Regions from separate parts of the Homo sapiens genome. Here all the other regions are linked to region 3. The links are contacts of gene promoters, found by promoter capture Hi-C in blood cells and fetal thymus (Javierre and others, 2016). All regions are on one chromosome and are shown on one strand. The core of a region is centred on a gene start or on the middle of the fragment in contact, and the rest is flanking DNA. Distances in the headings are between cores, read along the strand shown. Region 1 overlaps CR2 (complement C3d receptor 2). Region 2 holds the start of CR1L (complement C3b/C4b receptor 1 like). Region 3 holds the start of PIGR (polymeric immunoglobulin receptor). Region 4 overlaps CR1 (complement C3b/C4b receptor 1 (Knops blood group)).

Region 1 (7,142 bases), core at 3,594-6,093, 540 kb before region 3:
TCAGTTTCCTGGGGGCCTCCCCAGAAGCTGAGCAGATGCCAGTATCATGCTTCTCATACAGTCTGCGGAACCATGAGCCAATTAAAACTCTTTTCTTTATAAAGTACTCAGTCTCAGGTATTTCTATATTGCAATGTAAGAACAGACTAATACACAACCTAATGTCTATCGACAGATAAATGGATAAACAAAATGTAAACAAAATTGCATATACACACAATGAATTTCTTCCTTTCCTTAAAAAGGAAAGAAATTCTGACACATGCTACAACATTAATGAACCTTGAGGACATTATGCTAAGTGAAATAAGTCACAAAAGGACAGGTACTGTATGATTCCACTTATATGAGGTACTGAGAGTAGTCAAATTCATTGCGACAGAAAACAGAATGGTGGTTGCCAGGGACTGAAGGGATGGGGGAATGTGGAGTTACTATATAATGGATATAGAATCTTGGTTTTATAAGAGAAAAAGAGTTGTGGAGATCTGCTCTACAACAATGTGAATGTACCTAACTCTACCGAACTGTACCCTTAAAAATGGTGAAGATGGTAAATTTTATGTGTTTTTAATCACAATTTTAAAAAACAGAAAAAAAACAGATGCTGAACAGCATACCTAGTCTAGGGGAAGGTACAGAGTAAATTTGTGGTCACCAGTGAGCAAGGTTTTATTTTCTCAATAGTTTAAATGTTGGAACAGAGAAAATTAACAGCTATATCTATATCAAGGGTGTGGTGGGAGAGGATGAGTGAGCCGGAGAAGGTATTGGCTGGACAAATATAAGAGAAAGTCTTGAGGGTGAGGAAATTGAATTTGTGGGTTAAAAGTTTGGCTAAAACGACCAAGTGATGGGATCCTGAATGAATAACTGTTAAATCGTGGACTTTAAAGCCCTAAGACTCTCTGTTATCGAAGAGTTCATTGACTCCAAAAAAAAACAAAATAAGGCAAGTGTTGTATGTTTTCTTTACAATTACAATTTATTGAATGACTAATGTACACATTATTAAGTGAAATTTTACAAGCAACTAGAACTTATCACAAAACTGCTAAAGAAACATCCAAAGCCTGAATTGTACACCAAATCTCTAGGATTAAATCTTGATTCCCATAATTTAAAAAAACTTGTGCAAATTGCAATCACTGAGTGATTATGGAAAGGCAAAGTATATACAGTAATGTGAGAGAAACTCAAACCAAGTAAGGGTAAAAATGAAATGATTAACACCACCAGAGGAGGAAGCTACTATCAAAATAAAACCATACTTCCTAATAAAGGTAAAGCCATCATAACCCCAGAAAATGCTTCATACTTTAGATAATTAAAAACACATTATAACCAAAAGCAGATAGTAACATTGAGTATGCTGATTTCAAAAAGAAGATGGGTCTAGATACCAGGACAGCTCTTTTTAGTGCCTTCCTTAAAAAGGGCAAAACTTTTTAGAGCCATGTAATTGTTTATAGCCATGGCCTGGCTTCAGGCATCTCATAAGTGAGGCTTCAGAAAGTCCTTGAAGAGTATATGGCAGTGAAACTGGGCTCCCATCTTTACCATAAAGATGTTCTTCTTGAGAATAAGTGCATATAGGAAGTGATCGCTTATGACATCATTTCATTGATCTTGAGGCCATATAAAGAGACTTGCTGATATTAGAGCAGTTTCTTTCTAATCAATATTCCGCTGAATTCCAAGCAATGAGGCACACTGAAATAGATCATTTCTGTTTAGGAGGCAGCATGAATAGCAGCGGTGCAACTCGAAGTTTAAATAATGCTAACATTCTCTTTACATACCAGTTACAGCTGGTATAACCAACAAAGCATCAAGTCTATTAGAAGATATCATTCTATTGAAAGGCCTTTCTTCATATAACATGCTCTGGAACAAATAACTACATTTTATATACATTCATATAAACATGAATTAAACTAAATGAGAAATGAAAGTACTAATCTTTCTCATTCATAAACTCATTCAACAAATATTTATGAGCTAGGTGTACTCTGTACCTCAACTGGTTTGGATTTAGAGGTCACTAGTATGGTCCCCCTGTCAGGACTCACCAGCAGCAGGTTACCTTTTCTTCCTCAACTGCCATCACAGATTTTCTATACCTTGTTTATGGTATGTATTATTACCTATGATATTTATGGGTCTTATTTATCTTATTAAAATAAGTTCCAAGAGGACAGAGGTGGTATATTTTTTATTTTATTTTATTTTGAGATGGAGTCTCGCTCTGTCAGCAGGCTGGAGTGCAGTGGCGTGATCTCAGCTCACTGCAACCTCCAACTCCCTGGTTCAAGCAATTCTCCTGCCTCAGCCTCCCGAGTAGCTGGGATTACAGGCACGTGCCATCAAACCCAGCTAATTTTTGTATTTTTAGTAGAGACGGGGTTTCACCATGTTGGCCAAGATGTTCTCGATCTCCTGAACTCGTGATCTGCCTGCCTTGGCCTCCCAAAGTGCTGGGTTTACAGACGTGAGCCACCACTCCTGGCTGGTATCTTTATTTTCTAGATTATGTAGGAGAAAGCAGTTTAAACTCAGGCATGAGCTTGCATTCCACCTTTGCCAATGATTGACCCTGAGACCTTGCCCAAGGTTTTCTTGGATATTATTTCTTCATCTTGATATTATCTTGGGAGAACACCCACCTTTCAAAGTGGTACTGATGGCTAAGTAAGAGAAGGCATGAAAGACTGTCACATAATCCCCGGACAGAGTAAACCTTCAAATGTTCATCCCCACTTTCTCATGGGAAACTCAGGTGCACATCTCATGTGGCCTGTCGGCCTTTCTGTACTCCCTATAATTCAGTCTTCAGTTCTTAGTTGATGATTTAATGCCTTCCTTTTTCTTCTTAACTCTCTAATACCTCCTTTCTGAGCCTCACTCTCACCTGAATAATTTGCTTTCTATTCACTGAGAAGACTGAATCATCGGAAGAGAACTTCCACACGTTCACTCCCCATCACAGCTCCCAACCTGCCTTCATCTGCACCTGCAGATTCTGCCCTCCCTCCTGTTACTAAGCCCACGCAGCTAGGAGCTCCTCTGCTTAATCTGTTCCTCCTAGCTTACCCAGACCTTGTTCGAGCAATTCTTCTCTCTCTTTCTGCCATCACTCTTTCCCTTTCTACTAAATTATTCCCATCATCATGTAGGAATAGGGCATAACTGCTATTTCTCCAATCTTAAAAAATATTTCTGTTGACTTTATGTTTTACTCTTACTAGCACTTTACTTATTTGCTCCTTTTTATAGAAAAAAACCTAGAAAGAGTTGTCTGTATTTGATAGCTGCAATTTCTCTCCTTTCATTCTCTCTTAAGCTCCGTCCAGTCAGGCTCCTGCCTCCTTCCTCTCTTCAAAAACTGTCTTGTCAAGTTCAGCAGCAAATTTTGTGCTGCTTGCCTATAATCCCAGCTACTCAGGAGACTGAGGCATGAGAATCACTTGAACCTAGGAAGTAGAGGCTGCAGTGAGCTGAGATCACACCACTGCACTCCAGCCTGGGCGACAGAGTGAGACCCTGTCTCAAACAACAACAGCAAAAAAATTGTGCTACTGAATTTCAATGGTCAGTTTTCAGGGCTCATTTTTTTGGCCTACCAGCAACACTGGACAGAGTTGATCACTCCCTCCTCCCTAAAATTCTTTCTTTGCCTGACTTTAAGGTTCTTCTCTGGATAGTATCAGAGGCTGCTCCTTCACTTCTTAGTGGGTGCCTTCTCACTCCATGACTTCTAATGTTGGAGGATCCAGGGCTCAGTACTTGGACCTTTTCTTTTTGCTAGCCTCTTTCACTTCTCGGAGATCTTATTCAGTCTCCTTGTTATGTACAACCACATGATGACAAAGCCCAAATTTTTATCTCCAGCCTGGACCAATTGCCCAAAATACAGACTTGTACATCAGCTGTCTTCTTGCCAAGTCTATTAGACATCCACATTTAACATCTCCACAGTGGAACTCCTGATTTTTCTCCCCAGTCCTGCTCTTTGCAATCTCAATCATGTAATTAATGGCAGTTCTATCCTTCCAGTTGCTTAGGCAAAAGCCCTCGTGTCATTATTGACAGCTCTCTTCCTCTCATATTCTGATACAAACTATCCACGAATCCTACTGTCACTGTCTTAAAATTGCATGCAGAATCTGGCCTCTTCTTACAACCTGGTGGTAGCCACTGACAATTTCTTGCCTGGATGATTGCAGCAGCCTCCTCATTGACTCCCATCTTCCACCCATGGCTTCCTACAGTCTGTTCTTAACACAGCAGTTAAGGTGAATGTGTTGCTCCTCTCCTTAAAAGCTTCCAAATAAAAACCAATCTCTTTACCATGACCTAGCACACTTTATACAATCATCCTCTCCTGCCCACCATCCCATTACAATGACATAGCAGACTTTGTACGATCATCCTCTCGCCCACATCCCACCCCCATCTCTGTGACTTCATCTCTACAACTGTAGGCCACACTGGCCTCCTTGCTGTGCCGCCAACACAGCTGGCACACACTGCCTTATGGCCTTTGCACCTACTGTTCTTTCTGGAATCCTCCTCCCTCATATGGCCACATGGCTGGCTTTTTTTTTTTTTTTTTTTTTTTTTTGAGATGCAGTCTTGCTCTGTTGTCCAGGCTGGGGTACAGTGGCGCAGTCTTGGCTCACTGCAACCTCCGCCTCCTAGGCTCAAGTGATTCTCCTGCCTCAGCCTCCCGAGTAGCTGGGACCACAGGTGCACACCACCACGCTTGGCTAATTTTTGTATTTTTAGTAGAGACAGGGTTTTACCATGTTGAACAGAGTGGTCTCGAACTCTTGACCTCAAATGATCTGCCTGCCTCAGCCTCCCAAAGTGCTGGGATTACAGGCGTGAGCCACCAAGGCCGGCCCTGGCTCTTTACTTCCCTTGAGTTTTTTCTCAAATGACATTCTCTTAGTAAGAGCTTCCCTTGCGACCACCCTGTTCTCTTTATCCCCCTTGCCTGCTTTATTATGTCTCTATATAATGCTTATCATCTTATTGATTTTATTCTTAGTTGTTTTGCTATTTAGTTTAATATTTGTTGAATGGATGAATGGATTAAAAAATTGGAACATTAGTTGGCAAAATGAAGTAGGTAAATGAACAATTGCTATGCATGATTACTGAAGACTTGTGCAATAGTAAGAAGCATGTATATACACCGTGAATGCTACGCTTATTGATAAATACAAGTTGAAGGAAATTTTATATGTAAATTAATAATATTCCATTTCATTACATACCACCAGTTTGTCTTCTGATCAGCTGGCTGGGTTGTATGGATCAACAGAATATACTTCTCGTGCTTCTAAATGAAAAGCTTCTTTCTGGCTTGTATCTGTATAATAATTGCTAAACAGAAGAAGAAAGAAAAATGTAATATCTTTACTCATTGACCATGTTTCAATGTAGCAGTTGTTTGCTTTCCATAATTCCCAACACATGGTAAGTACTTTTGTGGATGATTTCATTTTTTTAAATTATACTTTAAGTTCTGGGATACATGTGCAGAATGTGCAGGTTTGTTACATAGGTATACATGTGCCACGGTGGTTTGCTGCACCCAACAACCCGTCATCTACATTAGGTATTTCTCCTAATACTATCCCTCCCCTAACCCCCAACCCTGTGAAAGGTCCCAGTGTATGATGTTTCCCTCCCTGTGCCCACATGTTCTCATTGTTCAACTTTCATTTACAAGTGAGAACATACGGTGTTTGGTTTTCTGTGATGATTTCATTTTTATTGTTTTTATCCTATGAAGTGTAAACACTGTAACTCCATTTTTTGGAAAGGCACATAAAAAATGAATGATCTAGGCTTGTAAGTGTTCAAGTCAGAGGCTGACACTAAGCAGCTTTACCCTAGGATCCAGGACGCTTAATGACTAACAACTACAACTTCCAAATTGAAGAAAAGAAGCAAAAATAAGTTCTTATTTTAGATCATAACTTTACCCTTTTGGGACTCAATGTTCTAGTCTGACTTAAAAGCTTTAAACGAGTTTGAAGAGAATGTTTTTACTTTCCTTCTTTGAAAGTACACATATTTCATTGTGCTTCTAAAACCACTTTGCCAGAATTACTAAAAGACAATAAAATGTGATTATACTACCATGTAAAGCTCTAAAATAACATAATACAAAATTACTGGGGAAGAAAGAATACTGCTAAAGACACTGACAGCATGTCACTCACTAGAATATTGAAGAGTTCCGTGTACAGGAGATATGTTAAGAAGATTATAAAACAGTAATTTTTAGGTCAATGTGAGATTTAAGCTTTGTTACAATATCTTAGATGACTAGAAAAGAATAGCATAGTGTCTTTCAAGTGTTTAGATGGCTTTTCAAAATATTTAATATTGTCACTAGACATTCATTTTTAAATGATTACTCATCTCATTTAAAAAAGCATTTCAGGCCATTCAAGTGTCTTTATCAATTATTGGAAAATCAATTGAAGTGGGTTAGCAAATGGAAATAAATGAATGGCAACTAGGAATCTGGTTAAACAGGTATGTTTGCTTCATATCAGTTGAGGCACTTAAGTATAGTACATGATATAATCATATTAATAAACAATAATTAGACTGGAATATTATAAATTATTTGCACTTGTAAGCATTCCCCAAATTTGCAAATTTTTATACACATGCAGTGCTCTGATAGCAAACTCAGTAGCATGAAGGAAAGAGATAGAGACTGTATTTTCTATGTATTTACATTTCTAATGCCTCTTGGCTGAAATTATCTTGTGACTTCCTATGAGGAAGGCCCTGCAAATGACATCCCTAATTTTTTTTGAGACCCTTTTCTCCTTGAATTCTGTGACGCTACTCTCTGCTAGTTTTCCCCCTGCCTCTCTTCCTTCACTTTCTGCCTTTTGAACATTACTGTTCTTCTGAGGGCTGTTCTCATCCCAATTTTTATCTGTTCTGTTCTTTTTGGTTCCACAGCTTTCATTGTGATTTAAGTGTCACCCACCCGAGTCCAGACCCTTCTCCCAAGCCCTAAATCATGAGTACCTCAAAGTACCAGGTCAGAACCGAACTCCTCATCTTCCCCCACAAATCCTGCCCCTCTCCTCTTTTAGTGAGTCAGG
Region 2 (7,751 bases), core at 4,935-7,434, 700 kb before region 3:
TGGCAATACGTTTTCAGAGGACTTTCTTCCTATGGAAAATTTCAAACTAAACATGCCTACCCCCAGAAAAACAGTATCTTGACTTATTTTTTCTAGATATTTTATATTATAATTAATATTAAGCTACAATACTATACCTCAACAGTAGGTGCCATTATATCATAAGATAGGTGCAGTCAGAAATTTCCCCAAAGTTCCAGGTGAGTTTTAGTAAAGTGAATTATCTACACTGGGCCGGGTGCAGTGGCTCACGTCTGTAATCCCAGCAGTTTGGGAGGCCGAGGCGGGCGGATCACGAGGTCAGGAGATAGAGACCATCCTGGCTAACATGGTGAAACCCCATTTCTACTAAAAATACAAAAAATTAGCCAGGTGTAGTGGCACACGCCTGTAGTCCCAGCTACTCGGGAGGCTGAGGCAGAAGAATTGCTTGAACCCAGGTGGCAGAGGTTGCAGTGAGCTGAGATTGCACCACTGCACTCCAGCCTGGGCAGCAGAGCGAGACTCTGTCTCAAAAAAAAAAAAAAATCTACACTGCATCCACTGAACTGTTCAACTTCTGTACATTCACACCTGCTTGCAAAAAATTAACTAATGTACACGCATACCCACAGCCCTGCCCAGATTAGTATTACCAGAAATTCATGGTATTTGACTACAAGTGAAATGGCAATGAAACCTGACCATCTTGCTCCTTCTCCCACTATCCAATCTATTTAAAACCTTTTTTGCTTCCACAAAACATAAACTCTGACATCTACATATTTCAATTTTATTTCTCACTTCCCACTCATTTTTAGGTCTATGAAAATTACTTCAACTACTTTCTGAGTCATTAAAGGGCCTCCTCCTTGTTAAACTCCTCCTAACAGTCTCTTCCTTAATAGTTTGAATTACCCTCTTGATAACGTGAGAGCTACTGATCACTCTGCCCTCACTCTCTTCTGCCTGAAGAGTTCTCACTCCTTGGCTTTTAGGAGAGCAAACCACTCTGGTTTTCAGCTTGTCCTCTGGCTCATACCAAGGTAATATCCCTGATGAGTCTGTAGGAGGACTTCCTGTGATTCCATTCTGCAGGTCCCCCTGGGAGAATATATACACTTCTGTGACTTCATTACCACTGATAACCAGCTGCCTCCTAGCTGGGTATCTCTCCATCCCAGATCTCTAGCTGGGGTGCCAAAACTACATATTCAATTGCCTCCCCACACAGCTCTACTTGGAATGTGTCACTCTAGCTCAAACAACAAAGGGAGGCCCAAGAGCCACTTTTGACTCTACACACACATACACATACACACACACGCCCCCCAAACAAGTTATGTTTCCACAACTGAAATGCCCGTTTATTCTATGTAGTTGTATCCTTTACTTTTCATTCAAGCCACTATCATTTCTTATCTGGATTACCACGACATAACTAAATAGGTCTCCATACCTATCTTGCCACCTTTCATTCAATTCATTTTTCACATTACCAGAGCAGTATTTATATGACAGAGTAATCAAGGTTTTTCCAAGACAGATACCTTTCGATGGCTCTCCAATGACCTCAGGATAATGTCTAAGGCTTCCTAACATAGCTTAGAGACTTTTAAATCCCATCACAATCAGAACCCAAGAATACATTCCAGTTAGGTTGGCAGACCCAGGAGGCAGGCCAGTCAACTAGGTTCCCAGGCCACACTGCTGAACCACTACCAAACTGCTTCCCATTACTGCCATTCATCTGGAGCTCCCACATGCTGAGACCGACAAACTCTATCTGCAATTAGGTCCTCAAGAAATTGCCTACTACTGTGTCTCGGGAAATTAAAACAACCCTAGTTTGGAGTCACGTTGTGCTAAGTCAAACAAAAGGGCTCAAGCTGCCCTAAAAGGACAGGGAATAATACCAAAGTCTGAGTTTACGATGGTGATTGTTTATTCCTGACAAGCCTGTTGCTTTTTAGAACTGCTCACCCTGTGATTTATTCCTCTCCCTTCTTTGTTGTCTCCTTTACCCTACTCTGCCACACTGAATAGCTTGGCAGTCCAGCAGTGTCACATCTTGGTGCCTTTGCTCACCTTGCTTCCTCTGCTCTGAATACCCTTCCTCCCTGGCCGGTAGCTACAACTCCTGCTCAGCTCTTGTCTTCTTTAATCCACCCATCATCTCCTCCAAGAAGCATTTTCTGCCTCCCCCTGGGAAGCAGTGATCAGTCACCTTCCCCTGGACTCTCCCCTGCATGGATCTCTCAGGTAATTATCACGTGTTTTTGAGTTTAATAGTTAACAAGGCCGACTCCATTCATCCATGTGGCCACAACACCCAGCACAATATGTCCCTCATAGTAGCTATTTGAAAAAAATTTGGTACTCAAAGTCCACTGCTGTCAAACACAAAACAATGTGAAGAATATATTGTAATCAATTTCATATTGAAAATAATCATTCTACAGAACAATGGAGAAAGAAGATTTAGCCATTTCTTGTGCTGCCTATCTCCCAGTCTTCTGGTATCCTGGCAGGTGACCAGATATGGACTGCTCTTTTTGCATTGTAGTATGCCGAGTGAGGAAACTAAGAAGCAATAAGAACTTACTGGTCTTGGCTTCTTTCATTGAAAATAAGGAAAACACCTGAAATAGGCAGAAGAGACCACACACAACAGGAGATCGGGGGTTTTGTCCAAAAAAGCAGCTCCTCTTCTGGAGGAATGAATGAGACTGGCCTGAAATTTGACACATGTTTCCTTCTGCTATCTGGAACCATTTGGCAACTACCTTTGAGAGGGCAGGTCTCCCATGCACAGCACCACCTGCTTACAAAACCTTATCTTTGTGAGAGTGAGTTGCTCCAAAAATTGAATGTTTATTTTAATTCATGTATTCTCTCTGCCTAGCATCGTGAGTTCTCATTTTTACTTTCTCTAGGTTTCATACCTGTCTTGATTTAACCCTATCAACCTCAAACTTAACCTTATTTTTCCTTCTCTTCATTTTTAGTTTTGTTATCTTCCATGTTGCACCCTATTCATTTTATAATTCTATGTTCCTCTATTTCAAATTGCTTTCATTATCTTCTTCAACTTCCAGGTTTTTTTTTTTTTTCTGTGTGTGTGTGTGTGTCTGTGTGTGTGTGTGTGTGTGTGTGTGTGTGTTTGAGACCGGGTCTCACTCTGTCACCCAAGCTGGAGTGCAGTGGTATGATTAGGGCTCACTGCAGCCTTGACCATGGGGGCTCCAGTGATCCTCCCCCTTCACGCCCTTCAGCCTCCCAAGTAGCTGGGACCACAGGCATGCAACATCACACCTGGCTAATTTTTTGTTTTTAATATTCTGTAGAGGTGGGCTCTCCTTATGATGCCCAGGCTGTATGTACTTCTAGTACTAAGCCTATTCTAAACATTAATCTTTAAAAAGAAAAAAAAGTCCTTTCGTTTTCTTCTTAACACCACTGCTCCCTAATCCCATCACCCTCCTTCAAAATGAACGTTTTAATGATCAGTGAGATGCAAGACTGAAGTACTGGAAGCCCTGCAGAGTCAACATAAACAGGGGAGACAGATCCTTTCTGGCCCTCAGCTGCTGCTGCCCTAGCTTTTTAGGTACAACAGAAAGACCATCCTGAGCATAGCTCTTTAAAGAACCTTCCTCTTGGAGGCAGGAGGGACTTTTTCCTAGGCTCTAAGCCCCAGCCAAATAGTATATTTAATTTTCTGATATTTAACAGATGTCTATATGGATACTGAGTTAGGGTTCATACAGAAGCAAACAAATGGGGCTTTTGGAACCACAAATGGGGGAAGACAGAAGATTCCTGCATTCTGATGGGGAGAGACAGAGAACAGAAAAGATCACTTTAAAAGGGTGATTACAAGAGGTACTTGAACTGGGTTGTATGTGTTCAACCTGAGTTGGGGGGTTCCAAGAAGGTCTCTGAAGCGGTAACATTCCAGCTGAGCTTGCAGAAGAAACAGCCCATTTATGCAGCAGGTCATGGGGAGAACGTTCCAGGACTGAGGGAACAGAAAGCACAGATGCCCCAAAGTGGCAGAGTTTTGTCTGTTTGATGAGAAGCAAAGCCTTCCCTCCCCCCAGTCATTTGTTAAATGCTGTCAGAAAATTATACTCCTTTCCTCCAGAACACTTCCCTGGTTAATATATTTGTTACTATTATGTTTTGGTTAATGTCTGCCACTCCCAATACATTTTAGCAAACATCTGTTGATTGCCTACTGTGTTCCCGGCATTAAGCACTTAACAATGAGCAAAAAAAGTCCCTGCTTATCTTCCTGCATGTACGTGTGTGTAAACAAATAGTAAAAAAAGGATAAAGAAAATAGGAATTGTCTGTTATTACCTACTAGTGTAACAGCACCAGACATACAAGACCCATATTTGTTGAATGAATGTTCCTAAGAGAAGAAATGCAACGTACAATCTGTACATGGAATAAGATCCTAAATATAATTTGGACATAGATACACATGAAACACAATAAAGTCAGAAGGAAATATAACAAAATATTAAAAACAGTTGTCCTTTTATTTTGTTCATTTTGCACAATAAGCCTGTATTTAAGCATGTATTTTTTGGCTTTTTTTTTTTTTTTTTTTTTTTTTGAGACAGGGTCTCACACTGTCATCCAGGCTGGAGTGCAGTGGCATGATCACAGCTCACTGCAGTCTTCTCCTCCTGGGCTCAAGCGATCCTCCCACCTCAGCCTCTGGAGTAGTTGGGACCACGGGCATACACCACCATGCCCATCTAATTTTTTTATTTTTTGTAGACATGGGGTTTTGACATGTTGTCCAGGCTGATCTTGAACTCCTGGGCTTAAGCAATCACCCAACTTGGGCCTCCCAAAGTGCTGGGATCACAGGTGTGAGCAACTGGGCCTGGCCTAGCATGCATTTTTAAAAATATTGATTCCATTCAATGAAATACAAAACAGTGGGATAGGCCTTAAGCTTCAGTTTATGAGCTGTAGGGGAAAACAAGATTAACATTATCTGCCTTCCTTTGTTAGGATACTAATTTCTCACTAGGTTTGGCTACCAGTGTTTTTTAGGTTGCTTCACATCTCTCAAATATGACTCAAACTAATGAAAAGAAGGAAAACAATGTCAAAAAGCCACTAGGCAATGGAATCAGATACTGTCTATATTGGTTGGGAACAGGAAGATGACTCGATGGCCCACCCACCCCCCAAAAAAGCAGCCACTTAAAATTCAAGACCAATACGATCTCAGGCAACACGGACACTGTTCACAGAAGGCACTAAAAGCATGGTGCGCCCTTACCACCTCTCTAACCCCAGGCACTGAGAGCCTGCTCTCACTCAACATGCCCTCCCTAGCCGCAGAGTCCGCGCTCGCTCCACTCAAAGCAAACAGTGAGCTGTCTTGCCCACAGTGAACTCCGCACACAGGCCACTTGCGCACAGCACGCTCCCAGCAACACCTGGCCAGGCCCCTGCTCGCCCAGCCCAGCCCAGGCCAGCCCAGCCCATGGGGCACAGCAGACGCACTGCAACCCTTACCGCGGGTACTGTCCAAGCCCTAATGAACACCCTACTCACCAAGGCACCAAGGGAACACAGGGCAAACTCTCACCACGGGCACAGCACGGGCTCTAGCAACAATCCCACGCACCTGTGCACTCCAGAGCAAGCCCTCACCTGGGGCGCCCAGTAAGCCCTCCCCTTGCTGACTGGGCTCAATCCCGAAAACACGATTCACGCTTCTTTTGGGAACGCAGCCAGATCCTGCGTAAATGTCGGCCGCGCACACGATGCCACCAAACAAGCTTCTGCGTGGTTCCCGCATCCCCCGCCACATACCCCCGGGATCTGAGCACGGCACCCCTCGGAGAACCCTGGCCTCGCTCTCTATCCCAAGCAGGCACGACGTGCAGTGAGCTTCGCCCCGCGCCTCCTGCCCGACTGACTGAGCAGAGCTCTAGCCTCGCCGCGGACGCGCGAATCCACCCCGGGGTCCTACCGGAGAAGGAGGACAGCAGCAACACCAGGGCCGCCAGAAGCAACCCAGGAAAGCGCCGGGAAGGAAAGGGACGCTCGAGACGGACGGGAGGCGCCATGAGCGGCGCGGGAGACCCCGTGATTTATCCGGAGGTGAGCAGAGAAACCGAAAGCCAGCCGAGCAGGGAAGTCCCTTCTGAGTCCGGTTAGTGGACACAACAATCCCCAAACTCACAGTTTCCAGGGCCGCATGACAGGTGGGCGTGGCCTGGGCGCGTAGTGTGAAATTGAGTCTTAGCGCCGGGGCGGCTGGGGCCAATCGGCGGGCCGCGGGGCGGGGCCTCGGCGCGCAGGGGCAGCCCGTTGGCCTTCGAGGAGACAGGGCGTGTCCAGAGCCCTGGCAGGGGGTTATCGTGGGCTAGCACCCCTCAGGGTTAGTTTTATCCTGGGGCACTGCAGGCTGTCAGGACTGCCTGGGCCCTTACTTGGTATTTGGCATTAGTCAGGCATTATTGGGAACAATATTTGAGTTTTTCTTGCTTGAATGCCTGCTACTGAATCGTCTCGGCGCCGTCTTCTTTTCACAGTCTCAAAGGTTTGGCTTCTGCACTCCCAGCCCCTAAGATAATTTGCCCTTTGCTCCCCTCCCTGGAGAGGACCCGTCAGAATCTAAATTATTAAGCAACACCAGGCCGTTAGCATATTGAGACTCTATGGGACCCTTGCCCTTGAGCAACTAAATGTTTTATTGAAGACGAAATATACATGCATGAACAATGTAAGGACAAGGGTGTCCTAAGTGCCAAATTCCTGGAAGCAATAAATGCAGGAGGATTGGGATGGGTAGAAATTGTTAGGCGAAGTGGATAAGGGGGAGAACTTTTCTGGTGAAACAATCTCAGGAACAATGTTGGAAAATTAAGAATGAGCAGGATTGATTTGTAGGGTTCTGAGTAAGCCAGTATGACTGGTAAAAGGGGGAAAAAAAAAGGGAACATGACTGGCATTAAAAGAGCAAACAAAAAAAGTTGACATCTCTTCCCCTCAGATTGGCAAAGAATTAAAACGTCAGCCAATGTGAGTGAACATGTTGCAGGGGGACCAGCACTCTGTTTGTAACATAACTTTTCAGAATGTTAAAAGTCTTAAAGTGGAAATGACTTGTGTTAGGCTCTCAGTTCCCAGAGAAATCATCAGAGCTGTGATCAAAGATTTATAATTTTTGTAAAAAATGTAAACCCTAAGTGTCTAGCAAAAGTAATAAGGAGGCAGTTACCTTTGTGTGATGGAATTCTATGCAGCAAGTATTGCAAAAGAATACCAAATGTGAGAAACTATGATATCATTGTAAGTGGAAAAAGCAGAGTCCAAATTGGCATGTGCATTTTGGCAGTCCTTTTATTAAAACAAAAATGCTATATATATATATATATATATACATACACTAATTTGGAACACAACAAAATTAACAATGGTTAAGATTATAGATATTTCACTTTCCTTGTGCTTTTCAGTTTTCTTTTTCTATGTTGACCCTATGTTACATTTAGAATAAGGTAAAGAAAATGTATTTTAAAAATCAAATCTATGTATCAATTGTTGTTTTGTTCATAGAATTATGGGAGTAGAACTTGTATTACACAGGGTTTGTATGAGAGGATAGTGAGGAATTAGATGCTTAGTGTATAAACCTAAAATGGGTCTTATGGAATTATAGAGTTTAAATGTATTTAATACAGTTCTATAACTGAGATGTACTGAAGACTTTCTGGGTTCACCAAACCACG
Region 3 (7,313 bases), core at 3,717-6,216:
TGGAGAGTGAAGAAGGGCTATCTAGCTTCCCTTTCTCTGTTGGTGATTGTGTCAACCCATGGTTGTGGAGCATCAAGCTAAAGACAGCCTGAAGGGTTGGATTTGTGTGAGCCTGTGGGCTTGGTCATCTGCAATATTCTCTGGCTAAACCAAGGGTGTAAACGGACGTCCCTTGCTGTCTGTAGAAATATCATCCAAAAAATTCATCCTGACAGCAAAAGTTTTGGGAAGTGGAGGAAAATGCTTTCTAGAAAACCTTGGTTCTAGACCCATCTGTGTGATGACCTCCTGTGCAAACTGGAGCAAGTCATTTCACTTTTCTGTTCTTGGTCCTTCATCATTCAGTGGAGAATCACTCTAGTTACGCCATCATGTTCTGGTACATGCTCCTAGTAGTCTCCAAAACTGTCTTAGCAGACAGTGCCAGACACGTATGCATGTACACACACACACTTGCCTTTTGCTGTCCCGTTTATTTGCTGCTGAATCATAAGCGCCTATTAGATGCTAGTCACTGAACATATTATAGCTAATCTTTTTTTAGATTTTTATTTTGGGGAGATAGGGTCTTGTTCTGTCACCCAGGCCAGAGTGCAATGGTGCAATCATAGCTCATTTCAGACTGCAACTCCTGGATTCAAGCAATCCTCCCACCTCAGCCTCCCAAGTAGCTGGGACTACAGGGGTGTGCCACCACCCTGGCTAATTTTTTTGTTTTTGTAGAGACTGGGTCTTGCTATGTGGCCCAGGCTAGTCTCCAACTCCTGACCCCAAGTGATCCTCCCACCTTGGCCTCCCAAAGTGCTGGGACTAGAGGTGTGAACCACTGAACCTGGCCTATACTTAATCTTTATAACATACCTATACAGTAAGTATAATTTTCCCCAGAGACATTAAATAATTTGTTCAAGGTTCCCTGGCTGGCAGGTGGTAAGGCTTGGATGTGAACCCAGGGCGTCGAGGTCCAGAGCCCCTGCTCTTTTCCCAAGGCTACACAGGCTCTCTATGCTTGCTACCTCCTGGCTTGTGTTGTTCCTTGACAGTATTGCATGTGAGTGATGACTTCTCAATTGGACTACTTGCCCTTGTGGAACAGGGGTGCACTCTCCTGCATGTCTCAAATCTCCCTGGACCTTGAGCTTGTCATGGTTGGTAGGCCGAGAAATAACCACCATCCCTCTTCCCCAAGGTTTGTCTATGTCTCAATCTCTGGAGCCCAGAAGTGTGACCTTATTTGGAAAAGAGTCTTTGTAGATGTGATGAAGTTCAGGATCTTGAGATGAGGACATCATCTTGGATTAGCTGGGTGGGCCCTAAATACCATCCATATAACAGAGAAACAGAGAGTTATTTGAGACATACACAGAAGCCAATGTGACTATGAAGGCAGAGGTTGGAGTGACACAGCTACGTGCCAAAGAACACCAAAGAATGTCAGCAGCAACCAGAAGCTAGAAGAGGCAAGCAACGGATTATCGTCTAGAGCCTGGAGGGTGGCCCTGCTGGCACCTTGATTTCAGGCTTCTGGTCTCCAGAACAGAAAGAGCATACATTTCTGTTTTCTTAAGCCACTAAAGTTGTGTTAATTTGTTATAGCAGCTGTCAGAAACTAATACGGTGCTCAACCAAAACACAGAATCCTAGAACTGAAAGAGCCTTGGGAACAATTTGGCACTGTCCTCTGATGGAACAAACAATCCTGCAGACCTACAGGATGAAGTGATCTGGCAAAGGTCACTCGGCAATTAGAGGCAGAATCAGGAACAAAACAAAGGTGTTCCACAGTGACTTATGCTGAGTCCCAGAGTCAGGAAAGTCCAGTGAGAAGCTGTTCTTCTGCTGGTATATTTTCTTGTATGATTACTTTAAAAGAAGCAGGGAGGGTTGAGCAGATGAAGTGTTGTAAGTTTGGAAAGTATAATCACTGCTGTTATCATCATTATTATTGATTTGGGCAATGGACTCTCTTGGCCTGTCCCTCCTCCCCCAGGGCTGAGAAATAGTACTATTTTAGGGCCACTGGGTTCCAGATGGGGAAACCACAGTGCGAGAGGGGAAGCAAGTGAGTCCAATCACACCACCGGCGTGTGGCTGAGCCCAGAATAGGACGTAGGATTTTTGACTCCCTGCCTCTTCCCAGGGCTCTACTTCTCATTTTCCCCTTTCTGTAAACTGGATCAGTAGGATCAGTGGGCTCCAGGTATGTGGGGTGTGTGTGTGTGTATGTGTATGTGTGTGTGTCTGACATGGGTCAGCTAAGACAGTTTTGGAGACTATTGAAAACATGCAGCAGGACATGATCTAGTAAATTACCCACCATCATGAAATAGCAAAGCAGGGAAGGAAATCTGCAACCTGTCCTCCACGCCCACCAAGGCAGCATGAGAAGAAATGATTTAATGAGTGTTCTCCCCTTCCTCCCTGCAAGCCTTTGCTCGTCAAATTTCTGCACTAGTGTTCTGTGAACCTGCCTTGACTTCTACTCCAGCCTGGACAACTGGACACAACTTATTTCTTGCTTTGGGAAGGAAGAAACAAACCCTACAAATATTTTGACTATTGAGTTCAAATGGAGAGAGGTATAAATCGGGAATCCTTTGAAAGGAGCTATAATCTGACAGAACCAGGCTTGTCTCATCTCTGCACCTGCATATCTTGTCTCCCCTCGCATCCTCCTGCTAGACATTAACCCCAGAACTGGGGAGGAGAAAGACTGCTGAAGAGTAAAAAGGAGAGCTTAGTTACTGATGTGTCTTGGTGCCCTCCCACCCACCACCATGGGGCAGAGTCCAGGCTACAGTAGGGGAGAGGGGATTAACAATGATAGAGATATCCAGGTGGGCTTGAAAACTCCAGATTGAGGGGCCCTCACCTTCGCCCATCCTGTAGAGAACTTTGGTGGTCCACAGTCTTGCTGATATCCATTGTACCCCCAATTATATGGGAACACTGGCACACAGGAGGTTACAAGAGTGTTGGGGGAAAATGTGACTCTGCTGCACAGGATCTCCCAAAGGCCTCAGGAGTCTGTGATCAGCCAAACTCACCCTGCACCCACAAGGTGGGCAAGGAGAGGCTGAGGGCCTGGAAGACCCACCCCAGGGAGCTCAGTGTATGGACTAGGAGGGCACAGTGTGGACCACAGAACCCTCAGGATGAGCAGGGACAAAGCCCACTGACCAAGCAGGGGAAGTCACATCTCAGTAGACAAAACTATTTCCTTCTGGAGCCCAAGGCCAGCACAGCATCGTGACAAAGCAAGACCAAAATAATAATGGGCCACCCCTTTTCACTGCCTCAGCAGTAACATTGACCACCCCCTCACCCAAGACCGCTCTCTCCAGACTGGACCCCAGGGGAGAGAAGGGAGACAAAAAGGAAGGGAACTCCATAATGAGGCTAAATTTTAAATCTGGAGTGAAGTGACTGAGAGATCACTGAATTGGGCTGAGCTTGCCTAGAAGTGACTAGGTAACTTGTTTTCTTTTATCAGTCAGATTATGGGTTTAGGGTTTGAAATTAAGCTACATCTGGAAGCCATCATCCTCATCAAACTAACACAGGAACAGAAAACCAAACACCACATGTTCTCACTCATAAATGGGAGCTGAACAATGAGAACACACGGACACAGGGAGGGGAACATTACACATCCGGGCCTGTTGGGGGGGGTGGGGGGAGGGAGAGCATTAGAACTAATAGCTAATGCATGTGGGGCTTAATACCTAGGTGGTGGGTTGACGGGTGCAGGAAACCATCATGGCACACGTTTACCTGTGTCACAAACCTGCACGTTCTGCACATGTAATCCTGGAACCTAAAACAAAATAAAAAAAGAAAATCTAAGTTTGCAAACCACAAAAAAAGAGAGAAATTAAGCTACATAAAGAAATTATGGGGTTTTTTTGCTTGCCATTGAAATCTGTGATTGTGTGTTAACACCCACAAGTGAGCCAGTGGTTAGCTAAAATAAGACCCAGGGCTCTGGCTGCCTTGTGTTTCTCCAGGGCTCTATTTCTCTATTTTTCCTTCCCCTTCTGGTGTTTGGCCTATAGGACTCTGTAGGGAGAGCCTGGGTCAGCCCTGCACAGGTAGGATGGGCAGCATTTCTGTGGGGGTTTGCAGTGAGGGGTCGGGGGGCCATACACGTGTGTGTTGGGGAGTGGGCTTCACTTTTGTCACAGGACTGCCACGATCATTTGGGGAACACCTGGGAGTCCCAACCAGGTCATGTTTTGGCATGGACTAACAGATAGGGAAGGAGGTGCTACTTCAGCTCAGCAGGTCAGCACCGTCCTTGCTATGGAGCCGAGCCCGGGTCCTAACAAGACTCTGAGGTCAGCCATGTTCAGGGGAGCCCAGAAGCAGCGAGTCTTTCATGACTCTGGGGAGTGAAACAGGAAGGGCCACAGTCCTGCCAGTTCCTGGAGCTCTGGGACTGGTAAAAGGGGCTTGGCAGGAGGTGTATAAGGGGCATTTTTGTCCAGGCTAAGTAACCTAGGGAGTCGGAGGGGATTCCAGAGCAACTGGGGATATGAGACCAAGGACTACGACAGCCACTCCTGCCACCTGTGCCCCATCAGATGATGTCAACTTCAAATCAAGCATTGGGCCAGGTATTTTAGAGCTAATACCGGGCTATATCCTCTACCTGTAGATTTGGTATTACCATCCCTCTTTTCCAGATGAAAAGAAATAGGAAGGTGACTTGCCAAAGGTCTTGCAGCTAGAAAGCGACAGAACAGCATCTTCACGCTTGACATTCTGTCCCTCATCCTGAAGCTGCAACGATGGAGGATTCCCAAGTAACAGAGTCTCCCCAAGGTCAAAGGAAACCAAATGGAGCCAGCCAGGAAGGCCAAAATGAAAGGAAAGCAAGGGATCTGTGAGAGTCACATGACCCTGGCTGGCCACGGTGCCTGTGGGAGAGTGGCCCTTTAAGAGCCCAGGTGTGGGTCAAACACTGAGCAGAGTTTCAGTTTTGGCAGCAGCGTCCAGTGCCCTGCCAGTAGCTCCTAGAGAGGCAGGGGTTACCAACTGGCCAGCAGGCTGTGTCCCTGAAGTCAGATCAACGGGAGAGAAGGAAGTGGCTAAAAGTAAGTGTTACTGCTCTGGGATCCCCAGACGGGATGCTATCTGGAAAGGGCTCGGGACGATGGCTCAGGTAACCCCCTCCATTCCCAACTCCCAGTCTCCTAGATAGTGGGGTGACAAGGACAAGGAGGCAGACTGTGTGACTGTGTGTGGCTGGGGAGTAAGCGTGCATATCGCAGTGGGACGAGTAGGGATGCACGTGTGTGGAAGCCCCCCATCCTTTTCTGAGAAATATCAGCAGGTGGGAAGGGACCTCTGTGGTCAGCATATGTAATTCTACTCTTTCAGCTTGGTCTGTGCCTGGATTTCCTAACTCCTCATAGTTGATTAACTGTGTGGCCTTAGACAAGCCACCTAACCTCTCTGATCCTCAGTTTCTTAATCTGTAAAACAAAGATAGAAATAACACCTATCATTCAGGGTCAATGTGGGTTCAAATGAGAAAACACAGGTGAAATAGCTTTGTAACCTCTAGAATGAAATAGGAATTGTTTCATATTTTTCAGTTTAGTTTAATTAATCAAGGATTTATTGAACACCAACAGACCTGGAATTAGATAGTGCGCATAAAGTATGGCACCTAGCAAGTCCTCTTCCATTCTTTGAGGTTTCCCACTTGTGGCTTTCTGGCAAAGGCATGTTCAGCTCCTTTTTTCTGGGCTTCCAAGAACCTCTGAAATCCTTTGCAATTCCACCTCGCTTTGCTCTAGCAGATTCCTGCCATGGGAGACATAAATGTGTGTCATCGCATCATCCTGCCCTTCCTAGAGGTAGAAAAAAAGAGGTCCTCACGGGATCACTGAGTGAGGTGGAGCTGAGCCCCACAGGCAGCATGATCAACTCCTGCTGTTCCTCCTGGCTCTGCAGCCAGCAGATCTCAGACATGGGCTTCCCCTCCCTTTGCCCATCCTGACAGCAGCCCAAGCCAGCAGTGGGACCGTCCGGCACAAGGGCAGCAGCGGGTCAAGCTCCATCCCTGACCCCCAGTTCCCTTTGTGCAATTGCCACAGTGCCTGGGGCCATTGAAGCTGCTCCTATTTTGTGCCATCACTTTCCCCCTTCACTAGGGGAATTATAGATCCTTTAACATCTGGAGAGGAGATGCCAATTTCAGGGGTTTAGGTAGAAGGCAGCTGTCTGGTGCCTGGACATAGGTCTTCCCAGAGCCAGATCTGGAATTCTCTCTCCATCCTTGTCCCGCCCCTGGATGTGCTAAAGTAGCAGAAAGAACACTGAGCCAGGAGTCAGGAAAGCAACTCTCTCTGCTTATCTCCTAGTGCCGCTAGACCTCTGTGGCTTTAGGTGATAAAAAATGGGGTCACACAGGCTTCCATTTAGTAAACCCACTTGCCCTGGGCTTTCACACCTTCGTCTCATTCTCCCTTGATACCAACGAGGAGGTAGGCAGGGTTGGTTTTGTGATGTCATTCCCTAGTTGAGGAAACCAAGACACCGTGAGTCTATGTGAGTGGTGTGAAGTCACCAGCAAGTTTGAACGATGAGGTTTTGGTACAGCCATTTTGATATGGTCATGAGGACATTTTGATGTCACCTAAAAAGCAAACTATCCAACTTAAAAAAAAATACCTATGCATTGTGCTCAGCAGAGACCTTCATCTATGTCTTGCCCTCTCTCTGGAGGGGCTGGGGCTGGAGTCCCAATGTCACTGGCATCGACACAGTATGGTGGAGTGGAAAGAGGCTTTGGCGTCAACATGCCTGGTTATACCCATGGTTATGTAACATATCCTACACATGGTAGGTGCTAAATAAATAGCAGCTAATATTTTCCAGGAAGAAATTTCTCTGTTGGCACCTACCTCTGGGTCCAGGTGTCTCTTCATTTTTTAATTTTTTATTTTTTTGAGATGGAATCTTGCCCTGTCACCCAGGCTGGAATGCAGTGGCGTGATCTTGGCTTACTGCAACCTCCACCTCCTGGGTTCCAGCGATTCTCCTACCTCAGCCTCCTGAGTAGCTGGGATTACAGACCCATGCCACCACACCCAGCTAACTTTTGCACTTTTAGTACAGATGGGGTTTTACCATGTTGGCCAGGCTGGTCTTGAACTCCTGACCTCATGATCCACCCACCTCAGCCTCCCAAGGTGCTGGGATTACAGGCGTGAGCCACTACGCCCGGCCCCAGGTGTCTCCTTATAAGAACTGCCTTTTCCGTGAAAGGCAGAGAGGAAAGAACTGAACAAATTCTCAGTTCG
Region 4 (7,026 bases), core at 968-3,467, 560 kb before region 3:
GGGTCCACTCTTGGTATTGTACACTATATGACTTCGGATAAATTTATTATGACATGTACCTACTGTTATGGCATCATACAGAGTAGTTTCACTACCCTCAAAATCCTCTGTGCTCTTCCGATTCATCCCCTTCTTCCCTAACCCCTGACAACCACTGATATTTTCACTGTCTCCATAGTTTTGCCTTTTCCAGAATGGCATATAGTTGGAATCATATGTTATGTAGCCTTTTCAGATTGGCTTCTTTCACTTAGTGATGGTGAAAAAAGGTTCACTATTTAAGGTTCCTCTATGTCTCTTCATGGCTTGATAGCTCATTTCTTTTTGGTATTGAATAATATTCTATTGTATGGATGTACCACAGTTTATCCATTCCCTTGCTAAAGGACATCTTGATTGCTTCCAAGTTTTGGCAATTATGAATAAAGCTGTTATAAACATCTGTGTGCAGATTTCTTTTTTTTTTGGTGTGAACATGAGTTTTCAATTCCTTTGGATAAATGCCAAGAAGGATAACTGCTGGATAACATGGTAAGAGTATGTTTAGTTTTATAAAAAACTGCCAAATTATCTTTCCAAGTCATGGTACCATTTTGCATTCCTACCAGCAATGAATGAGAATTGTGTCCCCCTTACCCCGAAATATATTGATGTCTTAATCCCCAGTGCTTATTAATGTGATCTTATTTGGAAATATGGTCTTTGGAGAGGCAATCCAGTTAAGATGAGGTCGTTAGTGTGGGCGCTAATCCATTATGATTGGTGTCCTTATTAAAAGAGAGCACTTTCGACACAGCCATACACAGACAGGAAAACAGCATGTGAGGACACAGACCCAGAGGGAAGACGGCCATGTGAGGACAGAGACAGAAACGGGAGTTCTGCTGCCACACGCCAAGGAAGGCCTGGGGCTCCAGAAGCTGGAAGAAGCAAAGAAGGATCCATCCTTACAGGTTTTAGAGGGGAGCATGGCTCTGCCAACACCTTGATTTTGCACTTTCAGCCTCCGGAACAGAATTTTAAAAACTTCATTTGTGTTAAGCCACCCGTTTTGGAGTACTCTGTTACAGCAGCCCTAGCAAACTACTTGTGCTATGACCGTTAAGATTTCTCTCACACAGTTACTCAATGGCCTTCCCTTTCTTCCAGCAATGTCCCCTCTGCGTTAAGGCTGTTTGTGTGCTTTGACTATACTCTTCCCCCATTTTCTTCCTTCCCACCCAATGAATGCCACACTTTTCATATATGCTCTGCCTTGGTTTCCAGCAAGGATACAGATGATTTTCCCCCGATCTTGTCATACCTTTGCTCATTTCAGTCAGGAGCTAAACATCTGTGTTGAAGCCGTTAAAGAGCAGATGGTAATAGTTTAGTTGTCCTTTCTGACATGTGACTAGAAGGTAGTAAGGCTGTGTTAGAACTCTTGAACCAAGAGATGTTGGTTCAAGAGATGCCAACTCACCCTTTAGTACAAGAATATTTAATTTGGGATCCGAACTGGATGCCTTTGATCACATGCACCATGCCATTCACAGGATCTGGAGGATTACGACATGATTTACCTACAGGAAAGAAACAGAATTTTGGAGCCAAGTAGAGTAAACTAAAAACTTTTTTTAGTACATAAGGTCTCAACCTGCCTGTAGCTTACTGAGGAACACACGCAGTTCTGATGGTTCCACAGATTTTGCTACCTTGAGGAAACTCACCAGACTGCCTCAGGATCAGCTCCCTTTCAAAAAAAACTTTCCTTTCAGATCTGTTTCATCCCCATATTATGCCTCCCAGAAAAATGTAAACTTTGTTATTATCTGTAATTCAATTCAACTGGTATAATCCAAAGATCTCAAAGCCCAAGATTGTCACATCTTTTAGTTATTTAATCCACTTCTCTTTCTTGTCCCAAGTCATTCATTACTTAATTTTAGTCATGAAAATGGGAGACCCCCAGTGAATGGGGATTTTCCCTCAATCATGTCCTGCAATGACTGTTTCTCATGAAATAAACTTTTAATGAAGGCGCCAGGAACTCAAAGCAGTAACAAGGTATGATCTACAAGAATAATTCTCATATGTATTGCACCTTGGCAAACTAATTGTCATATGCAACTCAGTTACAAAATTTGAACAAATTGAATCAGATCTTACAGATGTTTGACTAACAGGGGGGTTCCCACTCCAGAGTTACTTACGTCTGCACCTGTCCTTAGCACCAGTCCAGACTGAGTTTTTTAGGCAGATGATAGAAAACGGTCTTCCGGAATAACCAGGGCGGCATTCATAGTTCAGATATGTCCCAATGGGAAACTCAAATTCATCAGTTAGGTTGGTAGGCCTGGCAAATGGAAGCCATTCTGGGGCATTGCATTGACCTGGAGATCAAGACCATAGAAGCATCAAAGTTAATGGAGAAATTACCATACTTTTTTTTTTCTTTTTTGAGACGGAGACTGGCTCCATCACCCAGGCTGGAGTGCAGTGGCGCTATCTTGGCTCACTGCAACCTCCGCCTCTTGGGTTCAAGCAATTGTCCTTACCTCAGCTTCCTGAGTAGCTGGGATTACAGGTGCCCACCACCACACCTGGCTAATTTTCGTATTTTTAGTAGAGATGGGGTTTTACCATGTTGGCCAGGCTGGTCTCGACTCCTGACCTCAGGTCATCTACCCACTTTGGCCTCCCAAAGTGTTGGGATTACAGGAGTGAGCCACCGTGACCCTGTTGAAATTCCCATTCTACCTTCTCTTTCTCTCCAATATACTTCATAGATGTGATCAAAAAAGAAAAAGAACACTTCAATAATAGCCAAGGGGTGCAGGAGTGGTGGCTCATGCCTGTAATTTCAGCACTTTCAGAGGCCAAGGTGGGTGGATCACTTGAGGTCAGGAGTTTGAGACCAGGCTGGCCAACATGGTGAAACACTGCCTCTCCCAAAATACAAAAAGTTAGCAGAGCATGATTGCACTTGCCTGTACACATGCCTGTGCACAGCTACTTGGGAGGCTGAGGCAGGAGAATTGCTTGAACCCAGGAGGCAGATGTTGCAGTGAGCCAAGACTGTGCCACTGCACTCCAGCCTGGGTGACAGAGCAAGATTCCATCTTAATAAAAATAATAATAGCAAAGGGACTTATTCCTTTACAACAGTAGTCCCTTTTTAGCACCTGGGACTGGTTTTGTGGAAGACAATTTTTCCGTGAATGGAGGGTGCAGGGAAATGGTTTTGAGATGGAACTGTTCCACTCAGATCATCAGTCATTAGATTCTCATAGGGAGCATGCAACCTAGATCCCTCATATGCACAGTTCACAATAGGGTTTCTGCTCCTATGAGAATCTAATGCTGCCACTAATCTGACAGGAGGTGGAGCTCAGGCAGTAATGCTTGGCTGCTCACCTCCTACTGTTCTGCCCATTTCCTAACAGGCCACTGGACAGTATCAGTCTATGGCCCAGGGGTTGAGGACCCCTGCTTTAAAAGATGCCTCAGAAATGGGCTCCTTTTTAAAAAATCAGCATCCATCCATTCAAAAAGTCTCTGCCAGTTTGAAGGCAACTAAGCTATTTATATCATCTTTCACTAAAGGATAAGGTGCATTTCACAGCTTCAAAATTTAGTTAATCAGTAAGTGCCTGTGCTGTGGCTTCCTCTCTCCTATCATCATGTATAATTCTTTCTTGTAACAAGGTCAGTGAATCCAATCTGTTAATATTTATTCAAATCTTCTAGATACTTTACTGATTTTGGGGGGAGTACTTGTCTTACTAGATAATGAGTTGTGTTAAAATATTTTATTTATTGTACATTTGTCTATTTCTTTTTATAATGTTGTCCATCTTTTATTTTATATATTTTGAGGTTATTAGGATTATAAAAATTTAAATTGCTATATTTTATGGTAGAGCAACCTTCTTTATTATAATAAAATATCTCTGCCTCTAGAAATGAATCTTGCCTAAAATTCTACTTTGTTTACTTTATTTGTGGGACAAATAAAACACAAATAACATGGGAGATTTACTCCCCAGTATATAAATGCTTATTTTGAATATACAGTAGTCACCCACTTATCTTTGGGGGACATGTTCCAAGACATTAGCCGATACCCAAAACCTCAGATAGTACCAAACCTGACAGCTGTCAATTAGAACACATTTCTGTTCACCTCTTCCGCCCACAAATTTAATGCCTTTCCCCTCTTAGCTAAGCACTTAGCATGCACTGTGGTTGTAACTTTTGCAGTTTGAAGTGTGACAGCAAAACTAGCACAAATTTATTTTTCCTTCTTCACAATTTCATCGATAGAAGATTCCTTCTTACCTTAGGTCTTAGCAACTTCAACATACAATGTTTTTCTTTCCTTATTAAGTGGACAACTTTCACCTTTTCACTTAAAGGAAGCACTTGCTACTAAACCGGACCCTAATGGTAATGAACTCCCTTATTAGGCTCAGCTAAAATTTTGAGAATCTATATGGAAAGGTGTGGTAGGCTAAGTAAGGACCTCTCAGAGATATCCATGTTCTGATCCCTGAAGCCTGTGATTGTTACCTGTAATGGTTAAAGGGCTTTGCAGATGTGATTAAGAATCTTGAGATGGGCAGATTATCCTGGGTTATCTAGGTGGACCTTAAATGTGATCACAAGGGTCCTTATAAAAGGGAGGCAAGAGGGTGAAAGGAGACAGAAGAAGGATATTCAGAGACACTATGGTGCTGGTTTGGAAGGTAGAGGAAGGAGGCCAAGAGCCAAAGGACGGAAGCAGCCCCTGGAAGCTGGAAAGAGCAAGAAAACCCCTGCTCCCCTGGAGCCTCCACAAGGAACACAGCCCTATGGATCTATTTTAGACGTCAGCCTCCAGAACTGGAAGAGAATACATTTCTGTTGTCTTAAGCCACTAAGTTTGTGGAAATTTGTTACAGCAGCAATAGGAAATTAATACAAAAAGAGAATGGTATATAGTATTAAAAATGTTGGGTTCATAGATTGAATCTTGAACCCAATGTCTTCTACTTAGTGGCTATGAGGTCTTAGGCAAACCGCTTAATCTTGCTGAGCCTCAGTTTCATCTTCATAAAGGGAATAATATTTTCCTACCAGGTTTGCAGGGAGAATCAAAAGTAGTATATGCTGCCACATACACAGAAGGCACTTCATAAATTATACTTACGATTATTACCCTTAGAAAAGGGTAAGGGGACTTCTAAGAGTTAAATTCGATTATTCCGCTAAAGTGGGAGTGCTTGCTTTGCTTCCAAGAGTTCATTTTCTGCTCCTTTGCAGAACTAGCTTGGAATGAGCCTATGCTGTCGGGAATGCACTGGATGACCTCAGTGACTGGTGACCTCAGCTCTCCTGAGTGAATGTGCCCCGGATTCAGCCTGGGACTTCTCATCTGCATCTCATGAGCTCCATCATAGTGCCCACGGGACCCCGGACAGAGAGGAGAATTCCTAAGGTTGCCTTTTCCCTGTTGTCAATGGCTTTAGTCAGAATTGGAAGCCTAACTCTGTGCTTTCTACTGAAGCAAAGGATGATGCTCCAAGAAAGCTCATATTTCTTACTTATTTTTCCCAGACAGCCTGTATCCATCATCACACATTTGCTTTATTAAGCCAGCAGTTGTTAAGCAAGGAAGCCCTTGTCTATGTTCCCTGCCTCATCTTGTGCCACTTGGTCCCCTCACCAAGGTGTGGCCCTTTCCCCTTTTTCAGTTTCCCAAAGACACACATTTTTCCCGTCTATGACATTCCTTCTATGTGACGCAATTTTATCTTCACTCTGACTTCAATTCTTCCTTCAGGCATCTGCTAAAATGTCACTTTCTTATAGAAGCCTTCCCCAGCCTGCCTATGGCCATACCACCCTGAACACACCCAATCTCATCTGAAGCCTTCCCTGACCCTCTTAGGGATTTGGAATCTAAACTACTTCCCTCTGCCCCACCCTATAATAATTTCTAGTCCGACACTTTGCTTTTCCTTTCATATCAATAATTGTTTGTTATTACAATTTGTGCTTTTTATCTTTGTGTGCTTTTAGAAGTATCTATTTCTCTCAATAGATATTAGATATGCATAATTTAAAGGCAAGAGATGATGTGTTTTTTTGTACCTCTAAATTAATACTTAGTCCTGGTGCTTAACACTCAATTATAAGAACTCAATGCATATTTGTTGCAATGAACAAAAAATGAAGAATTACTTATAAAACTCAAAAAAATCAAGAATCCAAGCTATGTCCCCCAAATCTCTGATTTAGTGGGTCTAGGTTAGGGCCCAGGAGTCTATTTTTAAAAATTTTCACAGCTGATTTTGATAGATAACAGCACTTTGAGGATACTGTAAAAAAAAAAAACACTGAGTAAAACAGTTGCTGTTATTTTCAGTGTTATGCATTCACCTTTCCTCTAGTTGATATGTGGGATGAAATACAATTTTGATATTTGTCTTATCCATTGATGCCGGACAAAGGAAGAGATTCCATGTGAAGTGCCTAGCGCCAAAAGCTGTATTGAGAGAGGGTAAATGTCACAGCAAAGCTTGCAACGAGAGGAAGGAATGAGACCTAAAGTAACAAAGCAAATTGAATGAACCATTCTTGGAAAGAAGTTCCTTCCCCTTAATTACATAATATTCTTACCTGCATAGTAGTATATGAATAGTATAGGTAATTATAAAAAGCAAAGTTGTATAATAGCTCAAAAAAGGAATATATGAGCCTTCAACAAAGAAAGCTTGATGTAGTTTCCTTTCTCTCCTTTATTACCAATCCCTCAATTGTGACTAGTTCCTATGACAAATATATTAATATAAAATCCACAAACTGAAGACCTACCATAATTTTAAAAGTTTTTATAGCTTTATCAAGATATATTACATACAATGATTGATGAGTATTTGAAGTGTACAATTCGATTACTTATAACATATGTATGCGTTGTGAAACCATCACCAAAATGAAGACAATAAACGTTTCCATCATACATCCCACCCACACAGAGTTCCCTCATGCCCTTCTGTAATC

What was found. The method cuts DNA at HindIII sites, captures the fragments that hold promoters and counts their contacts. A CHiCAGO score of 5 or more calls a contact.
Region 1: a contact is called between a fragment that was not itself captured here and the fragment with the promoter of PIGR in region 3, in 2 of 17 cell types (endothelial precursors and erythroblasts). The highest score is 7.3, in endothelial precursors.
Region 2: the fragment with the promoter of CR1L here is called in contact with the fragment with the promoter of PIGR in region 3 in 7 of 17 cell types (neutrophils, naive CD8 T cells, erythroblasts and 4 more); the score reaches 15.1 in neutrophils.
Region 4: a contact is called between a fragment that was not itself captured here and the fragment with the promoter of PIGR in region 3, in 1 of 17 cell types (neutrophils). The highest score is 7.6, in neutrophils.

What each region holds. Positions count from the first base shown.
Region 1 is chr1:207,483,713-207,490,854 of GRCh38, reverse strand. CR2 (complement C3d receptor 2) reads right to left here. Exons shown (of 20, transcript NM_001006658.3): 19 at 5,283-5,391; 20 at 963-1,713. The coding sequence ends at 5,301. Among named protein-coding and RNA genes, the nearest start is that of CR1, 8.9 kb to the left of the region's middle. The HindIII fragment of the contact is 1,036 bases long and covers 4,326-5,361 here.
Region 2 is chr1:207,643,566-207,651,316 of GRCh38, reverse strand. It overlaps CR1L (complement C3b/C4b receptor 1 like), which reads right to left and starts at 6,184. Exons shown (of 12, transcript NM_175710.2): 1 at 5,987-6,184. The coding sequence starts at 6,083. It also overlaps the pseudogene CD46P1. RefSeq lists an enhancer at 6,075-6,154 and a silencer at 6,215-6,384. The HindIII fragment of the contact is 2,525 bases long and covers 5,795-7,751 here.
Region 3 is chr1:206,944,119-206,951,431 of GRCh38, reverse strand. It overlaps PIGR (polymeric immunoglobulin receptor), which reads left to right and starts at 4,966. Exons shown (of 11, transcript NM_002644.4): 1 at 4,966-5,096. The HindIII fragment of the contact is 20,587 bases long and covers 1-7,313 here.
Region 4 is chr1:207,501,250-207,508,275 of GRCh38, reverse strand. CR1 (complement C3b/C4b receptor 1 (Knops blood group)) reads right to left here. Exons shown (of 47, transcript NM_000651.6): 2 at 2,193-2,372; 3 at 1,463-1,562. Among named protein-coding and RNA genes, the nearest start is that of CR1, 8.6 kb to the right of the region's middle. The HindIII fragment of the contact is 8,653 bases long and covers 1-6,543 here.